2 separate regions of the Homo sapiens genome follow, and region 1 is linked to region 2. The links are contacts of gene promoters, found by promoter capture Hi-C in human tissues and cell types (Jung and others, 2019). All regions are on one chromosome and are shown on one strand. The core of a region is centred on a gene start or on the middle of the fragment in contact, and the rest is flanking DNA. Distances in the headings are between cores, read along the strand shown. Region 1 holds the start of TUBGCP6 (tubulin gamma complex component 6). Region 2 holds the start of SYCE3 (synaptonemal complex central element protein 3).

Region 1 (2,991 bases), core at 149-2,648, 320 kb after region 2:
GAGGGTGAGCAGGGCCTTACACTTATGCACCTGTGTCCTGGAAGGAGGAGTCTGTGGCTGAACATCAGGGGCAAGGAGGCGGCTGCCCTATCCATGTTCCATGTCTCCACGCCACTGCCAGTGGTGAGTGACCATGCCACGCGGCAAGGCAGGTGCTGGGGAGCCCATGGATGTGTACAGCTGCTGTTTGCTGGCATTGTCATGATAGCAGGCCTCTGGTCCTTCCTGTCTCCCTGCTCCTACTCCAGGGGCCCTGAGATTGGGAGGTTGGGAGGCCAGAGCCAGCAGGTGTCCGTAGATGAGGAGCTGGGCTCTGCTGTCCCCACAGATGACCGGTGGTTTCCTGAGCTGCATCTTGGGCTTGGTGCTGCCCCTGGCCTATGGCTTCCAGCCTGACCTGGTGCTGGTGGCGCTGGGGCCTGGCCATGGCCTGCAGGGCCCCCACGCTGCACTCCTGGCTGCAATGCTTCGGGGGCTGGCAGGGGGCCGAGTCCTGGCCCTCCTGGAGGAGGTAAGCTGGGCAGGGTGGAGGTGCTGCGGGGTGGGACGAGGGAAAGGACCAGTGACTGCTTCCGTCTTCGCCCCTGGTCCAGAACTCCACACCCCAGCTAGCAGGGATCCTGGCCCGGGTGCTGAATGGAGAGGCACCTCCTAGCCTAGGCCCTTCCTCTGTGGCCTCCCCAGAGGACGTCCAGGCCCTGATGTACCTGAGAGGGCAGCTGGAGCCTCAGTGGAAGATGTTGCAGGTGAGGCTGACTGCGGAGGCATGGCCCTGCCCTGGGGCCTGGCTCTGCCGCACAGATCGGTGGGGAGGGCAGGGCAGGGGAGTGCCCTGAACCAGCTCCAGCGCCGGAGGCCAACTGCGCGCCTCTTCTCGGCTCCTCCTGTAGTGCCATCCTCACCTGGTGGCTTGAAATCGGCCAAGGTGGGAGCATTTACACCGCAGAAATGACACCGCACGCCAGCGCCCCGCGGCCGCGATCCGGACCCCAAGCCCACGGCTCCCTCGACTCTGGGGCACGGAACCCCGCCCACTCCCAATCCCCGCGCCCCGCCCTCTCCCACCCGTGCTTCCCCCGCTCCACCCCTCACCTCACCTCGCCCCCGCCCCACCCATCGCGCCCCGGCCCGTCCCATCGAGGCCCATGCAACCCACGCTCGGTCCCGTTCCGGCCCCTGCGCCCCGCTGCGCTTCGCTCCCCGCCCTTGCGCCGTTAGTAAACATCGCTCAAACGAAACGCTGGCTCTGCCTCCTTTACTGAGCACGCTCGGCCTCGGTCTCTCACCCGCGGTGCCGGACTCAGGCCGGAAGTATGCCGCGGCCCAGGCCTCACCAACTTCACGCGCTGCCGGCGTTCCCGTGACGTATTTCCGGCGCGCCCGCCCTAGTGCTCTTCACACTGGCGCGGCTGTGACGCGACGGAGGCGGCGAGAGCGGCAGCCGTGGGCACTTTCCACGGGTGAGGCCTGGAGAACGGGTGGACGTGCAGGCCAGAACCCGGGACCCACCCGGCTGAGCCCCCAGACTCTCCGCTGCCCACGACCCTCGGAGTGGCACCCTCTCCTGGCCGTCTCCTCTCGTGGGTCCCGAAGAACGGGTGCAAAGCCGAGTTCGTCCGCTGTACTGCGCGGGCGCGCGTTTCGTTCTTCGGTTTTGCCACGGTTCTGTGACTCCCTAAAGGTTGAGGGCTACTGAATTAGAAGAAACGCCGAGCTGGCTTCTGGTGGGCTGCCGGGCGCCGGGCAGCGTGCTTGGACTGGGGAGGGCAGGGCGTGTTTACTCTGAGTAGAGCAACCGCAAGACCTCCTTTAAAAAATACCAGTTCTGAGCTTCGGCATTGGAGAGGCCGCCTGTCATTCAGCCTCTTCGGACCCTCTCTCACTCCCTGTCTTCCGGAGCGTGAGTGAAGCCCGGGTGAGGTGTTTTCCCACACGCCGGGGGCCCGGAGCTGAGAAGGGGCATGGCCAGCATCACGCAGCTGTTCGACGACCTGTGTGAGGCCCTCCTGCCGGCTGCCAAGACTCACCTGGGCCAGCGCAGTGTGAACCGGAAGAGGGCAAAGCGGAGCCTCAAGAAGGTGGCCTACAATGCTCTTTTCACAAATCTTTTTCAAGATGAGACTCAACAGCTGCAGCCTGACATGTCAAAACTACCAGCGAGAAACAAGATCCTCATGTTGTCCTTTGACTTGAGAGTGGGTGGCCTGGGCCCCAAGGCCGACCGTTTGGAGGAGCTTGTGGAGGAGCTGGAAGCAGCCCCTTGCTGTCCGCTTTTGGAGGTGGGGTCTGTTTTGGACCTCCTGGTTCAGCTGGCAGGGAGTGGTCCCCCTCAAGTTCTGCCGAGAAAACGAGACTACTTCCTTAACAACAAGCATGTGGGGAGAAACGTTCCGTACAGCGGCTATGATTGCGACGACCTGAGTGTGTTTGAGATGGACGTTCAGTCTCTGATCTCCAGAGAAGAGTGTTTGTGTCACAGCATGATCCAGGAAACACTTCAGGTTATGGAGGCTGCTCCAGGCACTGGCCTGCCCACCGTCGGGCTCTTCTCATTTGGTGACCCTTGTGGTGACAGGTTCGAGAGAGACACCCGGGTCTCGCTCTTCGGGGCCCTTGTGCACAGCCGCACTTATGACATGGACGTCCGACTGGGCCTGCCCCCCGTGCCAGACAATGCGGACCTCTCTGGGCTGGCTATTAAGGTAGAATGTTTAGTTTTTCCTCTTTCATCTCTCTCGGGGTTTGGAAAATGCTTCCTGTGACCTTTCTTCTTCTTCTTCTTCTTCTTTTTTTTTTTTTTTTTGAGACAGTGTCTCACTCTGTCACCCAGGCTGGAGTGCAGTGGCGCGATCTTGGCTCACCTTAACCTCCACTTTCTGGGCTCAAGCAATTCTCGTACCTCAGCCTCCCGAGTAGCTGAAATTACAGGCACCTGCCACCACGCCCGGCTTAATTTTTTTTTTTTTTTGAGATGGAGTCTTGCTCTGTTGC
Region 2 (2,788 bases), core at 188-2,687:
CTGGCCAACATAGCGAAACCCGGTCTCTACTAAAAATACAAAAACTAGCTGGGCGTTGTGGCATGTGCTTGTAATCCCAGCTACTAGGGAGGCTGAGGCAGGAGAATCACTTGAACCTGGGAGGCGGAGGTTGCAGTGAGCCGAGATCGTGCCACTGCACTCCAGCCTGGGCAACAGAGCAAGACTCCGTCTCAAAAAAAAAAAAAAAGAATTATTCCCTATTCATGTTTCTCTGGGCTGCTGTAACAGAAATCGGCTCTGGGCTGTATAAGCAAATGGAAGTATGAAGAGCAGCTCACAGGTGGAAAGGGATGGCCAGAAAACCGGGTTCAACCGGGGCAGGAACCTGGCAGCTGGCGGAGGGAGTGTGGCCCAGGCAGCAGCCTCCTCAATAAACAAGCGAATGCTCACTCCTTGCCCAGAACTGTCTGGCTCAACCCCAGCCATTTTTCCTCCTCTGCAATCAGGCTGCTAAGAATCAGAATCCCTGAGAGAAAATTCAGGGGGTCTAAGGTTTGTCAGGATTCTCAAACACAAGGTGTTCAAAATCAAAGTTAACCTTCCAAGCTAGCTTCTCCCACTCTTCCACATCTCTGCCAGTGGTATCACCCCGGCCATTAGCCCCTTGCTTCTTTCTCCCTCCCTCCCACATTACCAAGCCCTGTCAAGTCGACCTTGGAATGGCTTTGACCCTGTCCACCACTCAGCCAAACAACAGCAACGGCCGGCCCCGTCGCCACCCGCCTCGGCAGCCAGAGACCTTTTAACTCTGCCACTCGCCTACTTACCACCCTTCTAGGGTGCCCACGTCCCTCTGAAAAAAAAGGCTGAGCTCAGACTGGCCTCTGGTCAGCCTCCTCCCAGCCAGAGCTTTCTGTCACTGCCCTTCTAGGTGTTGAGTGGCTCTGCTTCCAGTTCTTGCCTGGAGACCAGGAGCGCCCGGGAGGCCCCAGCACTTTCCAGCCCACATAGACCTGCGTGCACCTCTGCCTCGTCTCCCTGAGCCCGGGCTGCCTCCTCTGTAAGATACATGCCACATAATGTCCGCCACACATGATCGCTGTGACAGTGGAAATAGCTGGGCGTTCAGCGACTCATTCGACAAATGTTTACCAGCACCTTTGGTACCGGGCGCTGTCCTGGACACTGGGGACACAGCAGGCAAACGGGGCCCTGCGTATAAATCCTTAAGCTCAAGAAGGAGGTGGGGGCAAAACTGTCAGGCCGGGAAGCTCTTCATCTCCGCAGGATTCTCCCTCAACCTCAGGACGTCCCCAGCACCGCACCTGCCAGTCCCAGACTCGGACGCCGCAGACCTGTGGGAGCAGCGCGGAATGCCCCGCCCCTTTTCCCGAGGACACCCAATGAGGGCGAGAGGTCACTTCCGGGGAGGGTTCGCTAACGGAAAGGGCGGGGCATCCCTCTCGAGGAGCGGCCTTGTTCCTCAAGCGGCCGCTGGGGGCGCCAGAGCAGGACCGGAGCGCGGGCCAAGCTGGAGGTGAGCGAGGCCGCGCCCCCCTGGGCCCCGGCCCTCCCAACGCGCCCTGACGGCTGGGCTCCGCCTGACCCTGTCCTAGCGTTCGCGGTGGCACCAACCTCAAGCCAGACCCTTGACTTCGACCCAACTCCACTCACCCGACTCCACTCACTCCACACCCCATGCCCCTCCCCCGACGCCCCTCACCCCGCCTCACCCTTCACCCCTCATCGCTCACGTCACCGCTCACCCGCCTCCTCACCCAGCCTCGCCCCTCACCCCTCACCCCGCCTCACCCCTCACCCCGCCTCACCCCTCACCCCTCATCCCGCCTCACCCCTCACCCCTCATCCCGCCTCACCCCTCACCCCTCCTCACCCCGCCTCACCCGCCTCGCCCCTCACCCCTCACCCCTCCTCACCCCGCCTCACCCCTCACCCCTCACCCCGCCTCACCCCTCACCCCGCCTCACCCCTCACCCCGCCTCACCCTTCACCCCTCACCCCGCCTCACCCTTCACCCCTCACCCCGCCTCACCCCTCACCCCTCACCCCGCCTCACCCTTCACCCCTCACCCCGCCTCACCCTTCACCCCTCACCCCGCCTCACCCCTCCTTACCCCGCCTCACCCGCCTCGCCCCTCACCCCTCATCGCTCACGTCACCGTTCACCCGCCTCCTCACCCAGCCTCACCCCTCACCCCGCCTCACCCCTCACCCCGCCTCACCCCTCACCCCTCCTCACCCCGCCTCACCCCGCCTCACCCCTCCCCCGCTCCCCTCACTGCACACTCCATACCCCACTCTCCCCACCTTACATCCCTCACCTCAGTCCTTCACCCCCTTAACCTAATCTCCATGTCCTCACACCATACACTCCTGATCCTGAAGTCTGCACACCCTGGGCTTCTCATTCCGTGCAGCCTGCCCCTCTTACCCTCACACCTGCCACACCTGGGACCCCGGAGTCCACACACCACCTCACACCCCAAGTTCCCACACGCACCTCTGGCTTCCTCCACCTGCACTTCAGGACCCGCCCAGACTCTTCATAGCCCAACTCCAAGACTTCTCTCCCACATCACAGGTGCATTCCCTTCCTGTGCTGCTCTCATCCCGTACAAAAGAGCACATCTCTGCACCAAGCATCCCTCTTATCCCCTCACATTCCTTGTTCTCAGAGGGATCCCAGACTCTGTTAGAAACTCTTCGTACCAGGCAAGACACTCAGACCACAAACCAGACTCTAGGCTCTGACTCGCTCAACCCCCGTCCTTCACACCTAAAGTGATACCCAAGCCAGACCCTACAC

What was found. The method cuts DNA at HindIII sites, captures the fragments that hold promoters and counts their contacts. A contact is called where the count stands out against the background at its distance.
Region 1: a contact is called between the fragment with the promoter of TUBGCP6 here and the fragment with the promoter of SYCE3 in region 2, in 3 of the 25 tissues and cell types used here (heart left ventricle, lymphoblastoid cells and spleen).

What each region holds. Positions count from the first base shown.
Region 1 is chr22:50,243,430-50,246,420 of GRCh38, reverse strand. It overlaps TUBGCP6 (tubulin gamma complex component 6), which reads left to right and starts at 1,398. Exons shown (of 25, transcript NM_020461.4): 1 at 1,398-2,702. The coding sequence starts at 1,962. HDAC10 (histone deacetylase 10) reads left to right here. Exons shown (of 20, transcript NM_032019.6): 17 at 45-123; 18 at 329-511; 19 at 594-746; 20 at 891-1,238. The coding sequence ends at 914. RefSeq lists a silencer at 1,026-1,095 and enhancers at 1,566-1,615, 2,026-2,305, 1,879-2,809. The HindIII fragment of the contact is 41,268 bases long and covers 1-2,991 here.
Region 2 is chr22:50,561,568-50,564,355 of GRCh38, reverse strand. It overlaps SYCE3 (synaptonemal complex central element protein 3), which reads left to right and starts at 1,437. Exons shown (of 3, transcript NM_001123225.3): 1 at 1,437-1,498. LOC107985568 (a long non-coding RNA gene) reads right to left here and starts at 1,395. Exons shown (of 2, transcript XR_001755606.3): 1 at 789-1,395. RefSeq lists a silencer at 1,336-1,745. The HindIII fragment of the contact is 12,147 bases long and covers 1-2,788 here.